Linked DNA regions of Homo sapiens: all the other regions are linked to region 1. The links are contacts of gene promoters, found by promoter capture Hi-C in blood cells and fetal thymus (Javierre and others, 2016). All regions are on one chromosome and are shown on one strand. The core of a region is centred on a gene start or on the middle of the fragment in contact, and the rest is flanking DNA. Distances in the headings are between cores, read along the strand shown. Region 1 holds the start of DNAJB14 (DnaJ heat shock protein family (Hsp40) member B14). Region 2 holds the start of CISD2 (CDGSH iron sulfur domain 2). Region 3 overlaps SLC39A8 (solute carrier family 39 member 8). Region 4 overlaps UBE2D3 (ubiquitin conjugating enzyme E2 D3). Region 5 overlaps NFKB1-AS1 (NFKB1 antisense RNA 1). Region 6 overlaps UBE2D3-AS1 (UBE2D3 antisense RNA 1).

Region 1 (3,864 bases), core at 46-2,545:
AAAAAGTTGGCAGGAGCTGGAGTGGGATTGTCAGTTTCTTAGGCTAAGTGTGACCATTTCAGTTTGTACATTGGCTTCGCTTGCTGTGTGACAGCACTGCACTAGTATGCTGTTAGCATGGTGGACTTGGGGAGGGAGAGAATAGGTAGGAATGTCCTGTATATCCACAGAATGAACTCCGAATTTAAACTTTAAAGATAATAGTGCTACGTGCCAGGCCCTGCTTTGAAGTCTGAAGTTGTTAAGTACTCAGTAACATCATTGGGGATATACTATCTCCATTTTATCGAAGAGAAGCAGGGTTTCTTATTTGAAAGTACCGAGTTATGGTAGTTAGCAGAATTAACAGCTTGGCTCACAGCATTATGTAAAAATTGTTACCTTGTGGTTGGGTTGAGCAGGTCATTTTGACAGTTTGTCATGTTTTTTTTTAAAAAATTTGCACATAGCAAACATTCCCCCCACCCCCACCGCGAAGACTAACAAGACACGGTACTTCCAAGTGGTAATGTTATCCAAATGGGACGGAAAAGGTGAAATCAAAAGTTTGCTTTCGTTAGGGCAGCCCCTGAGGGGCTGATTCCTGCCTTGTTTTGGCTACACAGGATTAAGGTCGATCTGCACCACTCGTTGCAAGCTACAAATTAAACTGCTTTGTACTTTGGATAGCCAGACATCCGGGTCAGAAAAAATGTAGCTGAAATAAGGCTGCCATACAAGCCCTAAGATTAGGTTCAAACGACGCTCTAACGTGTCCCGGAAGTGCTGAGACTGGACTGACACCTTGGTCCTCACCTGACCGCATCCTCCCTCGCTTGAGGGGCCCAGAGGCGGAACCTCCAAGTCCTGGCAATTTTACTGAAAACGAGTGTCCCCTTCCCGGACCCTGTCCTCCTGGCCTGAGCTGCGAGGGCCTCGCCTGGAGGTCACAGGGCACGGCGCTACCAATGCCGGCAATCGGGTCCCGGGCGGAACCCCTCCCCGCGATGGGCAGCCCGGCTGCTATCGTCCGCCTCCCGGGCAGGTCCGCTTCGAGCCTGCTGGCGCCGTGCGCGGACCACCGAGTCAGCTCGGACGCCCCGGCCCAGGAGGTTGGTCCTGGGCCGGGACGGATGCGGATCGCGCCCTAGGGGCCCGCGGGGGGCGGGGAGGCCGCCGTGAGGAGGCGGAGCTGCGAGGCCCGCCCGTCCGCCCGGGCCGTCGCAGCCGCTGCCGCGGTCCCCTGCGCTCCTCCCCGCTGCCGCCGCACGCCCCCAGCCGGTCCCGCCTCGCCTCCTCCGCGGCGGCGGCTTCCGCCCTTCTTAGCTGCGCTGCCGGAGGAAACGGAAGAAGGAGCAAGCTATGGAGGGGAACAGGGATGAGGCTGAGAAATGTGTCGAGATCGCCCGGGAGGCCCTGAACGCCGGCAACCGCGAGAAGGCCCAGCGCTTCCTGCAGAAGGCCGAGAAGCTCTACCCACTGCCCTCGGCCCGCGGTGAGACCTCAGCGTCCCTTCTCTTCCTGCCCAATCCCCAGACCACCGCGTAGCCCGCCCCTGCCCCCACCTCGGCCCCTCCTGGAGGCCTGCGGGGCCCCCGGCCTGTCTGAGCCAGCCCCAGCCCCAGGCCCGGTGGGGAGCATCCCGACACACCCCCGCCCTGGCCCCAGCCCCGGCTCCGGGCTGGGGCTCGGGGAATGCTGCGCGAGGTTCCTCTGCACCCGCCTGCCCGCCGGCTCCGCGTTCCGCTGTCCTAAATGTCCGGGTTTCATTCTCCCTGGAGGAGACTTGTCTGGTCCCGTCTTACCACAGTGAGGCTTTATTTGTATCTGTGTTGTTTATGTGGCCCCCTCCCTCCCCATTCTCAGTCCTACATAAGGCCTAGGCCCCTATCGAAGTGAGAGGAATGGTGTACTCTAGTGGCTAATCTCAGATTCCATGTTTCTGAGATCTGTAGAAAACTGTTCCCAAAGCAAACATCGAATACCTGAGATGACATTGCTTTTCCCTGGGAGAGAGTTCCTTTAAAAGAGAAGAGCACACTTTCGGCAAGAATGGTCAAGAGTCAGTAATGATTGCTGAAGAGTATCTGATTTGATAACACCATGATTATCGACGAACCAAATCTCTGAGGAATATGGTACTGGGTTTCCTTTAGTTGAAGTCAGCTTATTTATTTTCCTACTCGATAGGCTTCGGAGTAATAATAGCCAACATTTATTGAGCACAAAGTGCCAATAGTTGTGCCCAACATTTTGCATGGATTATTTCATTTATTCCTCAGAACAATTCTGTGTAGAGGTGCAGGATTCATTTGACCAGGTTTACCCACGTGGAAACAGACTTTCTGATAATTAATGAATGAATTAGCGAATGAATGAAAGTATCTTACCCAAGGTCACACAACAATTAGTAGCAAAGTCAGAATAGTAGCTGAACTTTCAGACTCGAAAAGGCCTTTAACCGCTACACTGTTGCCTTGCCATTAGTATTTCCAGGTTAAGAAGAAAGTTATCGATAGATTCAATTAATTGTAGAAAATTATTAATGAAAATATGGGGCCACTTGTTTTGTTGTCTCTTAAATTTTTTTCTCTACGTCGTTGAAGCCCTGTGCTCTTTGCTTTTCTCTCTATCCTTTCCATTACATTGCCTTCTAACACTATACCCATGAGGACAGGAAAATAAAATGAAAGAAAAGAGTTAATAATTTTTTAAGTTGTGGTTTAAAAACCTGCCAAATTTACGGTCTTAACTATTTTTAAGTGTGCAGTCCATTAGTGAAGTATATTGACATTGTTGTGCAAGGACTCTTCAGAACTTTTTCATCTTACAACACAACTGTGTACTAATCAGACAGCTCCCTACCGCCCCGTCTCCTAAGACCCTGGCAACTACCATTCTACTTTGTGTTTCTGTGAATTTAACTACTTTAGTTACCTCAGATAGGTAGATTCATGCAGTATCTTTTTGTGACTGTCTTACTTCACTTAGCATAATGTTCCCAAGTTTCATTTATGTTGTAACGTGAAGAATTCCTCTTTAAAAAAATACTGATTAGGCTGGGCGCGGTGGCTCACGCCTGTTATCCCAGCACTTTGGGAGGCCGAGGCGGGCGGATCATTTGAGGTGAGGAGTTCGAGACCAGCCTGGCCAACATGATGAAACGCCATCTCTACTAAAAATACAAAAAAATTAGCCAGGCGTGGTGGTGCATGCCTGTAATCCCAGCTACTAGGGGATGCTGAGGCAGGAGAATCGCTTGAACTCGGGAGATGGAGGTTACAGTGAGTCGAGATGGCAACACTGCACTCCAGCCTGGGCGACACAGCGAGACTCCATCTCAAAAAAACAAAAAAAAAAAGACCAAAAAAAAGCTACAGTAAAAAAACTGAATAATATTCCATTGTATATATACACCACATTTTGTTAATCCATTCATCTGTCTATGGACATTTGGGTTCCTTTCACCTCTTGGCTATTATGAATAATGCTGCTATGAACAAGGATATGCAAAGAGCCTGCTTTCAATTATTTTGGATACCAAGAAGTGGGATTGTAGGATCATACAGTAATTCTATTTTTAATTTTTGAGGAACCACAATACAGTTTCTGTAGCGCCTGCACCATTTTACTTTCCCACGAACAGTACATAGGGTTTCAGTTTCTCACCATCCTTGCCAACACCTATTTTCTGTTTTTGTTGGTTTTGATAGTACCCATCCTTGAGTGGGAGGTGATATCTCATTGTGGCTTTGATTTGCATTTCTCTGATGATTAGTGATGTTGAGCATCTTTTCATATGCTTATTGGCTAGTTTTATAATATCCCATTTTTGGAGAAAATGTCTGTTCAAGTCCTTTGCCCATTTTTAAATCACATTACTTG
Region 2 (3,928 bases), core at 1,044-3,543, 2.9 Mb before region 1:
GAATTAAATATTTGTTGACACTAGGGATCCTCAAGAAAAGAAAGCATACTTCTAAAATCTAGCCATTAAATCTAGTTTCATACTTTCTAATTTTCTTCAATTATACTTGATTTACAGAGAATCGAAACTAATACAAATGCAGCCACCATCTGGAAAAAACATAGGTAATTCATTGGACATTTTCCTTTCTTGACTGTTAAAAATTCCTCAACAGTTAACTTATGCAAATTAGTAAGAAGGTACAAATGTCAAAATGACAAAAGGGTACAAAAGTCACAATATGATCATACCGTTTTGGCCTGGTATTGCTATTTAAGTGAAGACATCCAAAAGGGAGAAATATGACAACTGGTATTTGCTTACTTGCCAATGAACTATTACATAATGAATTTTAAAAAATAGAAACATTTCTAATTTCCAGTTGTAAGGGAATGAATGGTTAGGCCCATTGTGATGTTAAAACTAAAATAAGTATTTAGTTGTTAGGGAAAAAATGAGGATTATATTAAAATATGTAAAGTACTTAAGTAAAAGAAGTGGGGAAAGCCAAAATTTTATGGAATTGCTGCAATTCTGTCAGAGTAAACTGGTAGGATCAAAAGATCTGATGTTTATAAACACTTGATGTGAAACGTTTTTCATTTTATTTTACTTTTGCATTGCTTCTGATGTTTAATGTTCCTTTTTAATGTTTATTATTGTTACCATGCTTTCTATTCAATTGCATGTTTTCTACTAAAACTCTTAATATTTAAAAAATATTAAAATCTCACAATCCACTCAACAGAGCGTCTGTCTGACCATAATTCAATGAATCTCTAGATTTGGAAGAGAATTTGTCATCTAGTTTATCCCTTCTAAATCTATCGACCACCCACCACCAGAGTCTTTTTGTTTGTTTTTTTCATCTTTGAGAGGGGCTATCACTGAAGCACCACATTTGTTTGGGGAAAGCATTCTTTAATTTAAAAAAAAATCTTCCTTAGACTGAAATTCACCTCCCAATAACCTTCACTAATTTGGTTAATTTGTTATCAGTTCTATATTTTAGTCTACACAAATCTTATTTTTCTTCTACCAGACAGCTGTGCGATTGCTGTATTTTAGGTCAGGTACTACAGATCTTTAGAACGTTCCCGGCGAAGCAACCCTATTTACCTCAGAATTATCTTAATTCATGTTTGCACTCCCTGATAACCTAGGACATAGGAGTTCAATACTTGCTGATTCCTTCACCATCCTACTCGGTCTGAGTTCCGTTTAGAAATATCCCCCTTACAATGAAATGCTCATAACTCAACACAATCTCCCAAGTGTTGACTGCATTCTGGAGATTTTCATCCTTTAGATGTGAAATCCTCATGAGTTGTGTGGGTTAAGTGAGGGTCCTTAAGTATAGAACGTTACATATATTCACTAAATTTCATTTTCTAAGATTTCACTCCTCATACCGGCCTTCGAATACTTTCTTGGGTAAGGTATCTTTCTTCCAACTTAAGTTACCGCAGCGGGCCCCGGGACCGTAGAAACGGAGATGACCTCAAATGCCACCTATGATAGGTCAATTCTAACCTGAGGGAATGGAGGTTATCTCCTAATTTCGTTACTAAATAAAACGGTCATATACGTGTTACGTGTAAGTCTATATTTCTCTCCCACACACTCCCACCCACATGCTGAGGGTACAACCCAGCCGGTAGCTGGGGCTGCCTGTTACATGAGGCCTTAGATAACGACGACTTAGCCCGCTTTAAAATAAACAAGTACGCTACAGAGAGCGATGAGCAGGACAGGAGATGAAAGAGACTGGCCTGTTCCCAACTCAGCACCTTCTCTGCAAAAACCTGGTATCTTGCCACGGAATGACACCGGAGACAACTCCGAGGACAAAAGACCCTGGGGCATCAAGCACCCGGAGACTGCCTCACAGGCGTTCCCCAGGCAGCTGCGTCGGCGCGCGCCCACCTTCCTCTGCGCGCGGGGATCACGTGCCAGGCGCCGAGCTCCGTCCCGCCCCTTGGCCCTAGGATTTTTACGCCTCCTTCCCCCGCTTGGCGAACGTGCAAGGATGGGGACTGGCTGATGGGGGAGGATTACCTGTGAGCCTAGCGAACCCGGTAATGCTTTCAGGGACTGGGAGCCGCTTCAGATATGCAGGGAGCTGCACCTTCACGATACGGGCCACGCTCTCCAGCACCATCCTGGCCAGCGGCGTCCACTCCTCTCCCGAGCCCCCTCCGCTCTGGCCAAGCTGCCGCGCCTGCGCCGGGAGCGGAAGCGGCCGGCGGGCACTGGCGGCCTCGGCCTGGGCGGCGGGCGGGGCGGCGGGCCCTGGGAGGAGAGGTGACCTGCCGGGCGCCGATTGGCGGCGGGCGAGTGACGTACGCTCGCGGCGGACTGCCGAGGCGCGGGAACTGGCGGGTAGCGAGGCCCTCCTCGGAATCTCGTGTGAAGGTGGCCCTCCTCTTGGGCCTTTAACGTCTGTAGATGCTGGAGACCAGCAGAAAGGATACTGTGTGCGATGAGATAAGCATGTGAGAATGCTTTCTAACCGAAAGTGCCTTTCAAAAGTGAGTCTCTTGCTGTCTCTACTTCGTCCCCTCTCGCCCCGCCTCTTCCCCTACAGTTTGGGTGCTGTGGCCCTAGGGTTGCATACTCGCCCATGAGTATCCTCCCCCTACCCAGACCCCAGTGCCTAATTTTACTCCTTCACCCAAAGGCCAGGCTTAAAAAAATAAAAATTAAAATATTTTAACTAAACCAGGAACTGTTTACATCTCTGCCCCTTGGCAACTTAACTGCAGCCCTAGCTCCAAAAACCTCTGGTTTTTGCCACTCAGAGAAGATTCGTAGTAGTCCTTCCTTAGATATTTTCAGTTCCTTTTCCTTCGGGAAAGTGGTAAAAGAATCCAAAGCTGGCCGGGCGCGGTGGCTCACGTCTGTAATCCCAGCACTTAGGGAGGCCGAGGCGGGTGGATCACGAGGTCAGGAGTTCGAGGCCAGCCAGGTCAAGATGGTGAAACCCCGTCTCTACTAAAAATAGAAAAATTAGCCGGGCGCGGTGGCAGGTGCCTGTCCCAGCTACTCGGGAGACTGAGGCAGGAGAATCGCTTGAACCAGGGAGGCGGAGGTTGCAGTGAGCCGAGAATGTGCCACTGCACTCTAGCCTGGGAGACAGAGCAAGACTCCGTCACAAAAAAAAAAAAAAAAAAGAATCTAAAGCCTTATGTATGGTTTTCTTTATGTTACAAGGCTTCTGCTGAAGTCTAGCGCAGGGGGTCCTTATGGCTTCCCTAGGCCACACTGGAAGAAGAATTGTCTTGGGCCACACATAAATACACTAACACTAATGGTAGCTAATGAGCTAAAAAAAAATTTTTTTTCATAAAGTTTTAAGAAAGTTTACAGATTTGCATTGAGTGGCATTCAAAGCCATCCTGTTGGGCAAGCTTGATCTTGAAGGTTTTAATTTTGTTGTTGTTGTTGTTGTTACAAGGTTTCGCTCTATCGCCCAGGCTGTAGTGCAGTGGTCAGATCATAGCTCACCGCAGACTCTAACTCCGGCTTAAGGGATCCTTCTGCCTCAGCCTTCCAAGTAGCTGGGTTTACAGGCGTGTGCTGCCACACCCAACGAATTTTAAAAATTTTTGTGTGTATGTAGATGGAGTCCCATTATATCGCCCAGGCTGGATAGTTGTTTTTATTAATATCTCTAAAAGATTTGAAGGGTAAGAGGAGAAAATTTCACTCCCTTGAAATAACTTTCTTGCTATGACTTTGTTTCATATTTTGGCTGAAGTCAAAATGTCCGAAGTTGTGCACTTGCTGATTGGATAATGTGTGTGATATCTTAATAATATGCCTCATTATTTACAGTTCTACACTTAACAACATATAATAACGAACTGCTAATGGTCCAGTATTTCAT
Region 3 (3,841 bases), core at 669-3,168, 2.3 Mb before region 1:
TCCTCTTACTCATGCTTGCTCGTTTCCTTCTCCTTGTTCTCCCTGTTTTCCTTTTCCTCCTTCTCCACATGCTCCACCTTGTCCTCCTCCTAATCATCCTTCTCTTCATCCTCTTCCTCATCCTCCTTCTCATCCTCCTTATACTTGTCTTCCTCCTCCTCCTCCTCATGCTACTTCTCCCTTTCCTTGTGCTCCCTATTCCCCCAGGCCTCCTCATCCTCTACAACTTTCTCCTCCTTCCTTAAACTGTTCTGCAATAAGCCCATTTGTTTTCTCCATTTTAATTTCTAAGTACTTTTTTTGAAAAAAATTTTGTTTTTTGCCCTCCAATTTATGTTGGGATTCAACATAGTCTCCCTCTATTTTTTTAACTTTGGTGCATGATATTCTTTCTCCCCCATTCTGATAACACTACACATTGCTTTGACTTCCATCCCCATTAATAACTAAGTGAAAGGTGTTACAAGTCTTGCTGAAGATTACACGGTAATTCTTCTCACAGCCAAGCTTGAACTCAGTTTTAGATTCCAGACTTAGTGTCTTTTCACTAGGCTGAATTGCCTCATCATGGCTGAGGATAGAAATAGCCTCATATTTAGAGTAAAACTCAGACAAGAAAGCAAGCAAGTGAACAACAATAACAATAGAAAACAAAAATTTAAAAAGGAAAGAGAGAGATAGGCATATTCACTAATTTAACTACAGGAACTTGAATTTAGTGTTCTCTCTGCTCAGTGATTTAATTCTAGGTGAATTAAAAAAGAAGTTTCTGTGAAGGTTTGCTGACTTTGGTTTGTTCCAAAACTATTAAAAATGTATAACTCTTACCTGCTCAACAGTATCATTTGGGACCAAAGCATGAGGCATAATAAATAGAGTCAATAATATCTGTACTTAGAGGTATGAGAATCATTCCTGATATATTAATTTAATTTCTTCTGTAAAATTAAGGGTGTTTGTATACAGACTCTGTAGTGATATCAGGTAGTCAAGACTTGGTTTTGTAGTCTTCTTCTGAAGTCATCACAATAAGGAAATTTTAAACATGTAATTAGACAAATTAGATTGGAAGATGAAAACAACTGCTTTAATTCAAAATAATCTCATTAAGTATATCACGGCATTAAGTTTTACAAAGCCCAGGTCACTTCCTCTGTGGCTTTCCCTATGACCACCTTTGTTTCTCCTTCAGCTGTAATTGCTTCCCGCTCTGGGGCATTTTTTATGCAAACTACCCGATCCACCTGTGCTAAATTATGATTGTTTATTGTGTTGTGCGTTTAAGATACAGCTATAAAATAAAAAGCCCACATTTTAAGAAAAGATAGAATTTTTTATGCGGATAAGCTTTGTTTCTTAAAATAAAAAAGATTTGATACTTACTCAATGTTGCATCAAGCGTTCAGAAGAGTTTTCTGAGAGGTGGGGAAGTCTCCTTGCGAATTACCTTCAGATCCTATTACAGAGAAGAATTCCCATCCCCGATATGTGTGTAGTAGTAAAGCACTGTTGCCAAAAATGCCCATTCACTCTTTTTTTGTATCTCTGGGTAAGTTTACCAACCTTTTTGTGCTTTAATTTCCTCAACTATAAAATGATGGTAACAGTTGTACTTTCCTCATAGAATTGTTCCAAATGAATTCGGTATTTGAAGTGCTTAGAACAGTGCCTAGCACATTATAAATGCTATGTGCCTTTGCTGTTACTATTTCTACTACGACCACATTGGTGATGACAATGATGATGAATCCTATTACTAACAGTTTCCCATTCATTTCATATTAATTAAAAAAATATTTGCTCCAAATGCTTTTATCTGTGCCTACAAACAAACAAAAATCCAAAGGTGCAGATTTGCCACTAACGAAATAGTAAAGAGATGTATTGCAGGATCTAAGGCTGATTCTGAAAGTGTTGGTCCCCAAAGTGTTTGGAGTGGTGAAGTGATATTGGAGTAACTGTAAAACCTCTTAGATGGTTGCTCTGAAGTAAGCCCCTCTCTGTTGGATATATATTGCATGTTTTTTTTTTAATGTATCCATATATATTATGACTTGTTTCTCCAATGTAAATACACTTCTTGAAGACAGAAGCTGTGTTTTCCATTTCTGTGTATTTCCTATAGCATTCAACAGAGTGTTTTACAAATTTCAGAAGTTCAATAAATGTAATGATTAGCTGCTTAGGTAGAGGTGAGAGGAGGAGAATTAGGAATAAAATGTTCTCCAGTTAATTGCAAAGTGCTTTTGTACTTAAAAATGAATTTGCATTTTATCTTTTTCTACAACTTCTGGAAAGTGTTTTAGTTGGCATTTGTCATTTGATTTTGTACAATTTTGTAAATTTTCTGGAAATCTAAATTCCTACAAAGAGTCCATCACAGGATTTTCTATTTTTTAATTGTTTCTACATGAAAGGAAGTGTTAGTGTAAAGGCTAGCCTGTTCCATTTACACTTCATGCAATTTGTTAAGAAAATAATTAAGCTTTGGAGCTGGTAGAGACCATATTGTTACAGCCTAAACCCTCCACAGGGTACCTGGAACAGAATGGAAACTCAATAAGTTGTTGATAAATAAATGAATCATTTAGTACAATGTCTTCATTTCACAGTTGAAGGAACTCTGTGATAACTTGCTCCCTGTCACATGGTGGCATAGGAGGGGTTAGAACAAATGTTGCTGATGTCATTCATCATGCTCTAGTTGTGGATTTCACATTTAAATTGTAACATAAAAAAGACTTTAAGTTTAGTCTTTGAATAACTTCCTTCATTTTAAATCTTGTGTATAAATAAATTTCTTAGGTTAATATCTGCTACATTTTAGAAAGGCAGTAGGAAGAAGTTTATACAAGTCAAAAGAATTGTTTTAAAGGGAAAGTAAAGGAAAATATCTGTTAGTGGCTTATTCGAGGTGTGTCAGTTGATGAATTTCCTTTCTCTCAACCATAAGTTTTCTTTGCTCTGTTATATATTATTAGGGTTTCCTAGTTACTCTAAAAGACTTTCTGTTGGAACAATTTGTTTTTCTCAAGCACAACCCATCTCCAACTTGTCTGTATTTCTGAGACTTTCAAGAAATGTTGGTTATCATTTTAATTGATTTTCTGCTAGGATGGAAAAAAAGAGCCAAGTTCATGTACCTGTTTGAAGGGGCCCAAACTGTCAGAAATAGGGACGATTGCCTGGATGATAACGCTCTGCGATGCCCTCCACAATTTCATCGATGGCCTGGCGATTGGGGCTTCCTGCACCTTGTCTCTCCTTCAGGGACTCAGTACTTCCATAGCAATCCTATGTGAGGAGTTTCCCCACGAGTTAGGTAAGGAGCTCTGTTCATATTGTAAAAGTCTGCTTACTTCTTGATTTCAGTGGAATGAGACTTTTCAGGTGACATGCTCTTAAAATCCTTCTGATGCACTAAAATGAAGACCTTGTTGGACATTGATGATTATCTTTGATATCATCCAGAAATAAAAAAAAAACTATTCACTTGATATTTTCTTCTTCTTCTTCTAGGAGACTTTGTGATCCTACTCAATGCAGGGATGAGCACTCGACAAGCCTTGCTATTCAACTTCCTTTCTGCATGTTCCTGCTATGTTGGGCTAGCTTTTGGCATTTTGGTGGGCAACAATTTCGCTCCAAATATTATATTTGCACTTGCTGGAGGCATGTTCCTCTATATTTCTCTGGCAGATATGGTAAGAAGCTTAAAATTTGTATTTTCTTTTAATTTAAAATTTGGAAATGAGTATCTGGATTATAAGTTAACTAAGGGTGGCCTTCTGCTTTCCGCAGTGTGGAAGGCCTTTCTGTTGTAATTCAGAACAATCCCATT
Region 4 (3,899 bases), core at 255-2,754, 2.9 Mb before region 1:
GTAATATTTAGAATTCTAAAGGAAAAAATGCTCTTAGAGTTAGTAGATGAGTCGAATCAACAAGTATTTATTTAGTAATTCTGATTCTAACTTTAGTCATTTTTCTGTCTCAAATGTGAGTACATACTGTGTGCCAGGTAATAAGGATACAAATTGAACATAATAAACATCCCTGTCGATCTTATAGGGAACTTACACTGTATTAGAGGAGACAGATACCTAAAACAAGTGCTGAAGTGTGACAAGATGGAAAATAAGTGATTGGTGAATGAAGTGCTGAGTAGGATAAATTAATGGGAAATTGAAGCAGGGAGGATTAATTTAGAGTAATTAAAATGTTAGTGCCCTAAAGGTAGAAAAACTAAATCAAAGTAAGACATGGCAGGGGTGCAAATATTAAGTTTAATACTTTGAAACGTCCTGGATCATTTTAAAACAAAGTAACATTTAAAACAGTAAAAATAGTCCTGTAATAACGAAATGCACAATCCTGGCTTTGTAGTTATTAAAAGTACTTACTTTTATCTAATTTGGTAGCAATATTGTTTAATTTTAATACACGCAGTTAAATGTTGAGTTACCCAGTTTGGCCCACACGATATTTTTGAAAGTTGGCAGTCTTCAAATAAAAGCCTTCTGAGTAGGCCCACATTCCATAAGCAGTAATGGCTTGGGATGGAATGACAGCTGCCTCCCTTTTTTAGATGGGATATGTGTTTACCACAGTGCCTACTAGGTCAATTCCATATTATCTGCCTAGTGTTTTGTAAAGCAGTTGCTTTTGCAACCTCTAGAATTTTCCCATTTTGGATTACCAGTTTTCAAAGAATGCTATAAAATGCCTTAAAATAAAGCTCATCTTTGATTCAGAGGGTAGTTGATAGTTTCATTATAAAAATTGTCAATACTAAGAAAGCACAGAAGCGTTGGTAATTAAAACTTCTAATTGGATGGTGTGCAGAATAAACTAACTCTTTAAAACTAGTTGGTTTTTCTGCTTGACAGTTTAGACTTTGTTATTTTGAACAACACACTAGTTTTTCCCAAAAGGCAAGGAACATACCTATAGACAATCAAAAGGAAACATGAATGATGAGTGTATGGTAGTAATTTTTTTAGAGAATGGTGTTGCTTATTCTGACAGATTTTTTAGCAGTTTACTTAATTTGCTGTTATTTTGAGAAAACATTTACCTTTTTTCATTTTTTAAATATATATTTCAGGTGATGGCTATTCCTTGCTGAACTTTTTCAGCAACCTTTTAATATAATGACTAGCAGTTTTCTGCTTTTACAAACAGAAGCATGTGATTTTCAGAACCATTTAAATATTAACCTGATTAACCACAACTGCTGGGTTTTGCTTTGGTAGCAGTACTCACTGAAATATGTTTTCAGTTAAAAAGGTTAGTTCTCACTGTTGGTTGGGTAAATTTCAAGAAGGAGTCAAAGATTATAAAAATCCACCCAAAGTACGGGTATTGTCTTGTACATAAGTAAGCACATAATTTAGATGCCAGCTTTAAATAGTTAACTATATGCTTACTGTGGAGTGCACCAATGAAACAACTCATTTTGTTCTTTTGGCTTCTCAATACTTCTTTGTGACAAAGCATCACTGTATAAGATAAATAGTAGCTTATTTTGTGAGTATGGTTGCTCTATGTAGCAAGCAGTTGTGACCTAAAGCAACCCATAAATTACAGATTTAGTGGGAGAACTGGACAGTTAACAACGTCACTTTTGCTTTGGACTACTACTTAGGTCCCTTAAAGTGGTGCCAGTGCCACAGAACTGAAGATTCCTGACTGTAGGGAATATACCATCTAATTTTGAGTTTCAATAGAGTAACTTTGATTTTAGTGAGTTGTTGGGAAATCCTTTAGATCATTAGTTATGCAGCAAAATTGCTTGGCTTTAATAATCATATGTACTGGCTTATTCTTTCTGAAGGTAAGCTACTTCGGAAGCACAACTATTGACTAAAAACTAAACCTTCGAAAGAAATGACAGCATTGCTAGTTTTTTGTGTGCGTGGGTTTTTTTGGGGAGGGGGGCGTGGGGTACTGTATTAAGGTTAGTTTCCAACAAGAATTGATGTAATTAGAAGAAATTGACTTCCTTACCTATTGCCTCTGATATTTACTTGCTTAAATTTTTTTTTATTGGAAATCCAGAAAAAGTGGATTTAGAGAACAACACTAACTCCCACCTAATCTATGACAGAGATGTAGAAGAGAGTACCTGTGAAAAATGTGAAAGTATCTGAAAAATGTAACCTTTGGCAGCCTGAGCATAGTCAACCAGAAAAACTATCTGAATTAAAATAATTGGTCCATAGGTACTATTTTATTTGGTCCATAAGGATTATTTTTTCAACTTTTTTTTCAAGTGTATTATTATGTCATTTCCCACGTAGGTTACTGATACCTGAAGACTTTTTCCACCTTTAACCTTACTCGTTGAGGAGCTTTGTAGTCTAATAAAAGAGAAATATAAGTAAATGTTAGATATATGGGTGGATAATGGTAACTATGTGCTTAAAGAGGTATAAAAGAAGGGTAGGGAGCAGATAAGACAAAGGAAGGGCTATATTATAAGGAAGAATATTCCAAGTAGGGAAGAGAAAAAGATATGTTATCCATATAATATTTTATGTGCAGTAGAGAACATGTTCTATAGAAGAGACAGAAGATGAAACTAGATGGGCACCCAGATCATAAAGCACCGTATGTACTTAGGAGTTGGAATTATCTTAAAAACTATCATAGATTTCAAGCAGGGGAGTAACATTTTTAAAAGACCACTTTATCATTAGGATGGAGGGATAATCATTAGTAAGCTATTGCCATAATCTAGGCTGAAGATAACATCATGAACTAAGATGGTAGTGACAGTGGGCATAAAGGAGAAGCTAATTCAAGAAATTTTAAAGATCTTACTTGATAACTATCTTGATTCTGAGATAAGAGAGGAAGAAGTTGATGATGAGATCCTGGTTTATGGCTTTCAGTTATGGCTTGCTATTAATAAACAGGAAAAAAGGGATTGAGACAAGTTTCAGTTTTGGACGCATGACATGAGATATCCAAGTAGAGATATCCAAGTAGAAATATCAGTAGGCATTTGAATATATGCCCTGGAATGAATAACTGACCAGAGATATATTTTGCAACTCAAATTTTTATGGGTCAGCAGTTAAGAGTAGAAAATCAACCTATAAGAATACCAGCATTTTTAGCTGGGTGTAGTGGCACATGCCTGTAATTCCAGCTTCTTTGGAGGCTGAGGCCCGAGAATTTACTTGAACCTGGGAGGTGGAGGTTGCAGTGAGCCGAGATCACACCACTGCACTCCAGCCTGGGCGACAGCACCACTTTAAAAAAAAAAAAAAAAGAATACCAACGTTTTATTGCCACAGAAGAGCTGAGGCACTGTGAGGGAGCAACTTTGCACTGATGAGAGCAAAAGAAGTAGAAGGTTTCTGAAAAAATCTAACATAAATTCTGGACTTGTACGATTTGAGTCGATTTGCTGATCACAGTGTTCCTTATTCTTTGGGGATTTTGTTTCTTTTTGGTGTAGTTTGCTGCTGATTCATAATAGAATTTAAATATCATAGGGTCTCAATTTTTTATATTGCCTAGTTTCATTATCTCTGAACCTCGTAGTTCTTCCTCTTTTGGCATGGCAGAACTTTAGTGTTAAATTGTAACATTGAAATATTTTGCCTTCTTTATAAAGTTCTTTTTTCGAACAAACGAAACGAAATTTGGCTTTGCCTAAATCCCATCAGCAGATTGCCTTTATTCAGAAGCAGTCATAGACAGCATTTGATTTTATGAAAATTGAAATGAAAGCTTACAAAGAACTTCTGGAATTAGGTTATTAAAACTTCAA
Region 5 (3,500 bases), core at 394-2,893, 2.6 Mb before region 1:
CGAGAGAGCATACAGACAGACGGACACACGCGCGCACGCAGCGGGGGCGGGAGGTAGGGTCGCTGCCGGGGGTGGGGGAAGCCCGCACTTCTAGGGGCGCTGTGCGCCCCCGGCCCGGCCTTGCCGCTCGCCTCGGCTCCCGCCCCTCGGGGCCGCTTCGGGGCGCCGGGCGAGGGGCGCGCGTTAGGCGGCCTGGACGCCGCGGCCCCTGCGGGGCTCTGGCTTCCTAGCAGGGCGCTCCCGAATCCCAAGGGCTGGAGCCGGTAGGGAAGCCCCCAGGAAGCGCCTGCCGGGCCCAATCAATGGTCGGGGAACGCAGGCAGCACGGAGGCGGCGGCGGTGGCAGTGCCGCTGATAGAGTCATGCGGTCCATAGCCCCTAAGGGCAGGCCCGAGCAGCTGGAGGGTCGGCATGGATCCAAGCATGCCAGATATAAAAATAAAGCTCATCTGTATATTCCATTTAAGCGTGTCTCAGTTACATTCACATCTCTTCACAGATTAAACTACAATTTCGTTATCATAAACGACTTGTGCCCAGTAAAGTATAACCCTCTACTGGTTTTTGGTGCGGTCTTAAATCTCCTGGTTATAGAGCAGTTACTCAGAATGTTCATCTACAAGGCATTGTTAGGCCTTTATGATAATTACTGTGGATAGAATTATAGTGATGGTGGTAGCAATGGTTTTGGTTCACAGCTCATAAAATACTGATCTGGCAGAGGGGAGTTTTCTTTTTCTCTGAAGAGACCGCTACTGGCACCCACTGACAGGCCTCCCAGTGGCCACCATTCACTGGCATCTGAGCTGCTTTAGTGCTGGGCACTGTATTAGGTACAGGCTGGGGATACCTTCGGGTGGATTACCTCCCCACATAAGAAAGCTTGAGCCGAAATATATATTTTAGAGCTCATTGTTTCACTACTGGGTGGAGTGACAACTGAAAGCTTAGCTTTAAAACATCAGTAATCAGGTCCTCACCAGGCAATATTGCAGTGGCATTTAGATTGCTTATGGCATGTTCATCCTAGTCCTTTCGTGCCCACTCTCCATCCTCCTCCTCCAGTAGGTTATAAAAACCTTCTTGGTGGAGTGTTTTTCTGGAAAAAAAAAATAAACAAAAAAAACCCACACACACAAAAACCCAGCGATCCATTTGATTGCCTATGAGGTGAGTCTCCGAGGCGACCTTGGAGGCCCCAACAGTCGACCTTTAAGTGATCTCATTTAGCTCCGGGAGGCTGAGCAGCTGGAATTTAGAGGATCCATAAAGACTGAACACAATGACTTTTTAAGAAATTCTGTGAGCCGGGTGCGGTGGCTCACACCTGTAATCCCAGCACTTTGGGAGGCCAAGGCGGGTGGATCCCCTGAGGTCAGGAGTTTGAGACCAGCCTGACCAATATGGTGAAACCCCATCTCTACTAACAATACAAAAAAATTAGCCGGGCGTGGTGGCGGGCGCCTGTAATCCCAGCTACTCCAGAGGCTGAGGCAGGAGAATCGCTTGAACCCTGGAGGCAGAGGTTGCAGTGAGCCAAGATTGCGCCACTGCACTCCAGCCTGGGCGAGACAGAGCGATACTCTGAGAAAGAAAGAAAGAGAGAGGGAGGGAGAGAGGGAGGGAGGGAGGGAGGTGTGAGCATACACACTCTACTTTTCATTCTGCAAGGGGTGGCAGCCCCATTACCAAAAGATAGATAAATACAATTGTTATAAGAGTAGAGCCAGTGTGACATATTTGGGAGTAAAAAATGAAGAGCGTTAATTACTGAAAAGGATTAAATCAAACTCCAAACTCAAAATGATTCCATAAAATGAACTTAAAATTCAGGGTAGGGTGTTGAGCAGGCATATTTTCCTGGGGCTGCTGTAAAAATTTACCACCGACTGAACAGCTTACAACGGGAATTTATTCTGTCACAGTCCTGGAGCCTAAAATTCTGAACTCAAGGTGCCATTAAGGCCATGATCCCTCTGAAGGCTCTAGGGAAGAATCCTTTGCCTCCTCCTAGCTTCTGGTAGCTCCAGCAATCCTTGCCATTCTTGGCTTGGCTGCAACACTCCATTCTGTGCCTACATTGTCACATGGTCTCCTTCCCCGTGTTTCCTTTGTGTCGCTATATTCAACTCTCCCTCACCTTTCTTTTATGAAGACACCAGTCATTGGATTTAGAGCCCACCCCAATCCAGTATTACCTCATCTTAACTTGATAACATTTGCAAAGATCCTAGTTCCAAATAAACTCATGTTCACAGGTACCTGTGGTTAGGACTTGAACATATGTTTTGGGGGGATGTAATTCCATGCAGCACAGCAGGCAAAACTATAAAAGCTTTTTGGCTTGCTGATTAACCCTCCTCCATTCCTGCTTTGTTACCCAACATTTTCTCTACACTGTACAAACCTGCTTCCAGGAATATCTCTTACAAATTCATCCATCCTAAGGTGTCAGAAGGTATTTGCCATTATCAGGCTACGAAGAGGAAAAAAATGCCTCAATGTGGAATTTCAGACATCAATATTGTCTAAAAGACAAGTTATTTTGTGTTTGTCACTTGTCTTAGTTCATTTGTGTTGCTATGGCAGAATACACAAGACTAGGTAGCTTATAATGAAAAGAGGTTTATTAGGCTCACAGTCTTCAGACTGTACAAGAAGCATGGCACCAGCATATGCGTCTGGTGAGGGCCTCAGGCTGCTTCCACTCAATGGAAGGCAAAGGCGGGTGGTGTGTGCAGAGAGATCGTATGGCGAGAGAGAGGGGAGAGATGCCAAACTTTTTAGCAACCAGCTCTCATAGGAACTAATGCAGTGAGAACTCACTCATCCTCTCCTCCTTGCAGGGAATAGCATCAATCTATTTGTGAGGGATCCACCTCCATGACCGAAACATCTCCCATTAGGCCCCACCTCCAAAATTGGGGTCACATTTCAACATGAGGTTTAGAGGAGACAAATACCCAAACCATAGCATCACTAAATCATTGAAACTACACAAATTTCCCTTCTCATGAAGCTATTTTGGAAATACCAGTGTGGAGAGAATTCTGAGGTTGAGATCTGTGTAGTGTGTTCATTGGCAATGAGAACATAGGAAAAGTATGTCTTCTTTTTAATTGCCTCTGAGTAAAGGTGACACAACACTTCTGCCCACATTCCATGGCCCCACTTAGATGCAAGAGAGCAGGGAACTACAGTTCTTCTGGTTGGTTAGGAGGTTGAAATAGGTCGGCTAAGCATATGGTTAATACCTGCTATACACGTATTCACTTATTTGGTTGTCAGTCATATAAAGTGGATCACCATTATAATCCCCATATTTACAGATGAAAAGTTGAATAATTTTCCTAAGGTTTCATAATTAGTAAATAGAAGGAGAGTCAGGATTTGAACCTAACAGATTTGGCTCCAGTGTGCATGATATTAACCACCACACTAAACTATTATCCAATGATATAAAAAGGAGCATGTAAGAGATTTTTAGAAGATGAGGTCAA
Region 6 (3,950 bases), core at 1,118-3,617, 2.9 Mb before region 1:
AGAGACAGGGTCTCACTCTGTCACCTAGGCTAGAGTGCACTGCTGCAACATGGCTCACTGCAACCTTGACCTTCTGGGCTCAAGGGATCCTCCCACCTCAGCTTCCAGAGCAGCTGGGACCACAGGCACATGCCACTATGCCTAATTTTTTTGTAGAGACACAGTTTCATCATGTTGCACAGGCTGATCTCAAACTCTTGGACTCAAGCAATCCTCCTGCTTTGGCCTCCCAAAGTGCTGGAATTACAGGCATAAGCCACTGTGCCTGGCTTGATTTTATTGTAACATTCTAATAAAGGTAACTGGAGGGAGAATTCCCCCCGCCCCCAAATATTTTTTAGGCAAGCTTGACCCAGTAAATAAACTAAGTTTACTTCCTGTACTCTCTCTTATTAGTGCAACTATTTCAGATCTTTCTCACATTTCTTCAGGATTATTTCATTAACATCCTGTTTTTCTTGCCTCTAGTCTCCATCCCAATACATACTTTGGGCACATGCTTCAACATTGCTATCACAGTTACCTTTTTGCCATCAAATCTGATCAGGCCATTTTTGTTAAAAATTCAATTTCTCCATTCTATCCCATCCCCTTCAAAATAAAAGGCCCTCAAGATCTCCAGTCATGTCTTTCAAATCTATCTTGTCTCCTCATCTTTTCTGTCTTCTCATTCTCTCCTTGCCGCTCCCCCCGCCACCTCAACCTCGCAATACTGCAGCCAAAGTTTTTCTAGTTTTAAAAACTTATCAAGTCATCTCTGAGACTTTGCATGCTGTTTCCTCTTCCTAGGAGCCTCCCTCACAATTTTTTTCCAACTTTGCCTTGCTCCCTTTTTTTCATTTGTTTTAATACAACTCTCTTCCTCAGAGAAACTTTCCCTGACCACCGCCAGCTGAGTTCAGTACATTAATAGTGCTCTGTGCACACATTTATGTCACTGAACCCACTCTATGATGTTGTCTGATGCTTACTGGTCTCCTCAAGAGACTTTCTTATAGATGACATCTGTGTCTTTTATGTATCTTCAGTGTCTAGCACCTAATAGTAATTCGATGTTTTTTAAATAAATAGAAAACTAGGAGTGACTCTATCAACAGATCTCTACTACATTAACATTCTTTGTCCTAAACCTGAAAGACTCCCACTTGCCTATTCAGACCTAAGTATCACTGATTGACAAACCGAATGAAAGTCTCTTTATCGTGCCTCACCCTACACCAAAAGCAGTATTACAAATATATATTTTTTTAACCTGTGTTTGTAAGTAAACCAGCTTTTTGGAAGACAGAATGCACTATTGTGGTCATTTCACATAAACAGAATCAAACAGTATGTGGCCTTTTGTGTCTGGCTCTTTCACTTGACAGAATGTTTTAAGGCTTCAAGATACATTTTGTAACATGTATTAGTACTTTGTTCCTTATAATAATAATAATATTCCATTATACACATATATCACATCTTCTTTATCCATTCATCAGCTGATGGACATTTGAGTTGTTTCTACTAAAAAGTAGAATAGCCCTACTCTGAACATTTGTGTATATATATGTTTTTGTGTGGAAAAATGCTCTATTTTTATCTCAAAGATTTGTGCATGCTTCATTACATGCCAAAAGCCTTATTAAGGCCAAAATGACATCTTAGCATGAAATAAAGTACACTTTCTTAAACCATATTAATTTGACTTAATGAGATTCTGAATTGTTAAGTATAGAAATCAATTTGATTTTTGTGCAAACAATGTAAAATAACATTTGGTTGACCTGGGCTCCAAATTACTTGGTCCAGGCAGAATATGTAAATGAGCATTCTGAATATAAAATCTGGACCGTAGCATTTACAATTTAATTAAACTAATAAAATGGTATACACTGTACTAGAGCCAGTGTCTTTGGCAAGTTATAATATTCTGTAACAAAATTAAAGATACATGAAAACATAGATACAATATTAAGTACATATATATAAAATCTGTTAATTATGTTTATTCATCAATACATTCTAATTAACCCCTTACTCTCAAGTTATTATAATAACGTGGCCTCACTGAAAAATTCATGTAATAAGACCCTGGCACACCACCATTATTCAGATTGGTAGATTAATTGCCCATTTACTAGTAATTTTCTCTGAGACAGGGTCTTGCTCCATCACAGGCTTGAGTATAGTGGCACAATCACAGCTCACTGCAGCCTCAACCTCCCAGGCTGAGGCAATCCTCCCACCTCAGCCTCCCAAGTAGCTGGGACCATAGGCGTGTACCACCATGCTCAGCTAATTGTTTTATTATTTTTGTAGAGACTGGGTCACCCTATGTTATCCAGGCTGGTCTCAAACTCCTGGGCTCAAGTGATCGTTCCACCTTGGCCTCACAAAGTGCTGGGATTACAGGCGTAAGCCACCAGCCCAGCTTTAATTTTCTTGATCCTTTCTATTTTCTCATGTTTTATGTCAATTCATGCAAGATAATCTGATCTACTATATTTACAAAGTTTTTAGGACTTCAAAATAGTATTTATTAAGGAAGGGATTATTTTTAGTTAATTAAATTTTCAACATTTTTGTACCTTTATTAATTTCTAAATGTAAATTTTTCTTTCAGTATTTACAGCCATAATTTTTTTCTTGTTAGCATTATTTCCGACTGCAATATAAAAAACATGATTATTTTCCTTTCTTGTTTCAAATGAGGACATCTCTACCATTGTAATTCAAGTAAGTTAAATGAATGAAAATGTTTTAACTTTATTTGCAACTGTAAAGTGGGCTCTCTGTAACAACAGGTACATGAATAATGTTTTAAAATTTAACTTAATCTTAGCCTGCTTTATCCTAAGGCATCAAAATGCTTCTAGGCTATGTTTCTTTTGATTTTAACCATGGCAAAATATAAGCAGAAATGTAAGTCCACTTATGCAAATACAAACTTGTAAACAGAAAGCCCAATCAACCAATGAATTTACTTCACTGCCTAACAATAATGAGTTTGTGATTACACAATCACTTGCCTTTATAAGCATGGATAATCTAGAACTCCATATATATTAGTTTTGTTTTTTGTTCTTGTTTTTTTTTGAGACAGGGTCTCACTCTGTCGCAGTGATCTTGGCCCACCGCAACCTCCGCCTTCCAGGCTCAAGCGATTCTCCGGCCTCAGCCTCCCAAGCAGCTGGGATTACAGGCGCCCGCCACTACGCCCAGCTAATTTTTTGTATTTTTAGTAGAGATGGGGTTTCACTGTTTTGGCCAGGCTGGTCTCGAACTCCTGATCTCATATGATCCACCCGTCTCAGCCTCCCAAAGTGCTGGGATTACAGGCGTGGCCACTATTACTACTATACATTTGTTTCACACTATGGCCAGTTAATGTCTGACTGGTTACTTTAATAACTGACATTTATACAGCACTGTAGAGTCTCCAGTGTCCTTTCACATATATTATGACACTTTAACCACACAATCACCCTGTGAGAAAGGACAGTCATTATTACTTACTTTAGCGGTGAAGAAACGGGGTTAGAAGATAACTAACCAGGCCAATATCAAGCAAATGGGAAGCAATAACTAATCTGGGTTCCTCCCTCCATCTTCATGCCTAGTCCTGTGCTTTTAGTATATCTGGCTAGCTATGAGAGAGAACACAGATTATTCAGGGAGGAGGGAGGGGCCAGAGGTGTTACTGAGGTGAGCCTCATGAGCAGTTAGGCCATGAGGTAAGCACTTCAGTGCTTTGCTACTCACGGGGTGGTTCAGACGAGAAAAATCTGTATCACCTGGGAGCTAGTTAGAAATGTAGGCTCTCAGGCTCCACCACTGCCCTACCAAATCAAAGTCGCATTTTCAACAAAACCCCAGGTGGTTCCTATGGACACTAGTTTGAGAAGCACTGCTTCACTAGTGACACTACATGGTCACTTGAACAGTATACATTAGACTACTTATATTCA

Evidence for each region. The method cuts DNA at HindIII sites, captures the fragments that hold promoters and counts their contacts. A CHiCAGO score of 5 or more calls a contact.
Region 2: a contact is called between the fragment with the promoter of CISD2 here and the fragment with the promoter of DNAJB14 in region 1, in 1 of 17 cell types (neutrophils). The highest score is 6.2, in neutrophils.
Region 3: a contact is called between a fragment that was not itself captured here and the fragment with the promoter of DNAJB14 in region 1, in 1 of 17 cell types (total B cells). The highest score is 5.2, in total B cells.
Region 4: a fragment that was not itself captured here is called in contact with the fragment with the promoter of DNAJB14 in region 1 in 1 of 17 cell types (neutrophils); the score reaches 8.5 in neutrophils.
Region 5: a contact is called between a fragment that was not itself captured here and the fragment with the promoter of DNAJB14 in region 1, in 1 of 17 cell types (total B cells). The highest score is 6.3, in total B cells.
Region 6: a fragment that was not itself captured here is called in contact with the fragment with the promoter of DNAJB14 in region 1 in 3 of 17 cell types (fetal thymus, total B cells and non-activated CD4 T cells); the score reaches 7.9 in fetal thymus.

Annotation. Positions count from the first base shown.
Region 1 is chr4:99,944,049-99,947,912 of GRCh38, reverse strand. DNAJB14 (DnaJ heat shock protein family (Hsp40) member B14) reads left to right here and starts at 1,295. Exons shown (of 8, transcript NM_001031723.4): 1 at 1,295-1,474. The coding sequence starts at 1,342. RefSeq lists a silencer at 1,032-1,691 and an enhancer at 1,862-1,911. The HindIII fragment of the contact is 11,087 bases long and covers 1-3,864 here.
Region 2 is chr4:102,867,357-102,871,284 of GRCh38, reverse strand. CISD2 (CDGSH iron sulfur domain 2) reads right to left here and starts at 2,293. Exons shown (of 3, transcript NM_001008388.5): 1 at 2,098-2,293. The coding sequence starts at 2,200. It also overlaps a transcript of UBE2D3 not described here. RefSeq lists silencers at 2,033-2,152, 2,183-2,472 and an enhancer at 2,703-2,842. The HindIII fragment of the contact is 11,662 bases long and covers 1-3,451 here.
Region 3 is chr4:102,267,353-102,271,193 of GRCh38, reverse strand. SLC39A8 (solute carrier family 39 member 8) reads left to right here. Exons shown (of 9, transcript NM_001135146.2): 7 at 3,115-3,322; 8 at 3,520-3,704. Among named protein-coding and RNA genes, the nearest start is that of SLC39A8, 76 kb to the left of the region's middle. RefSeq lists an enhancer at 2,565-3,764. The HindIII fragment of the contact is 1,138 bases long and covers 1,350-2,487 here.
Region 4 is chr4:102,804,992-102,808,890 of GRCh38, reverse strand. The region is part of intron 4 of UBE2D3 (ubiquitin conjugating enzyme E2 D3); the gene reads left to right. Among named protein-coding and RNA genes, the nearest start is that of UBE2D3, 21 kb to the left of the region's middle. The HindIII fragment of the contact is 4,715 bases long and covers 1-3,861 here.
Region 5 is chr4:102,497,802-102,501,301 of GRCh38, reverse strand. The region is part of intron 1 of NFKB1-AS1 (NFKB1 antisense RNA 1); the gene reads left to right. Among named protein-coding and RNA genes, the nearest start is that of NFKB1, 1.8 kb to the left of the region's middle. RefSeq lists a silencer at 4-263. The HindIII fragment of the contact is 1,389 bases long and covers 949-2,337 here.
Region 6 is chr4:102,829,048-102,832,997 of GRCh38, reverse strand. All of the region lies in intron 1 of UBE2D3-AS1 (UBE2D3 antisense RNA 1), which reads right to left. It also overlaps a transcript of UBE2D3 not described here. Among named protein-coding and RNA genes, the nearest start is that of UBE2D3-AS1, 3.0 kb to the right of the region's middle. RefSeq lists enhancers at 3,547-3,626, 3,667-3,726. The HindIII fragment of the contact is 4,037 bases long and covers 349-3,950 here.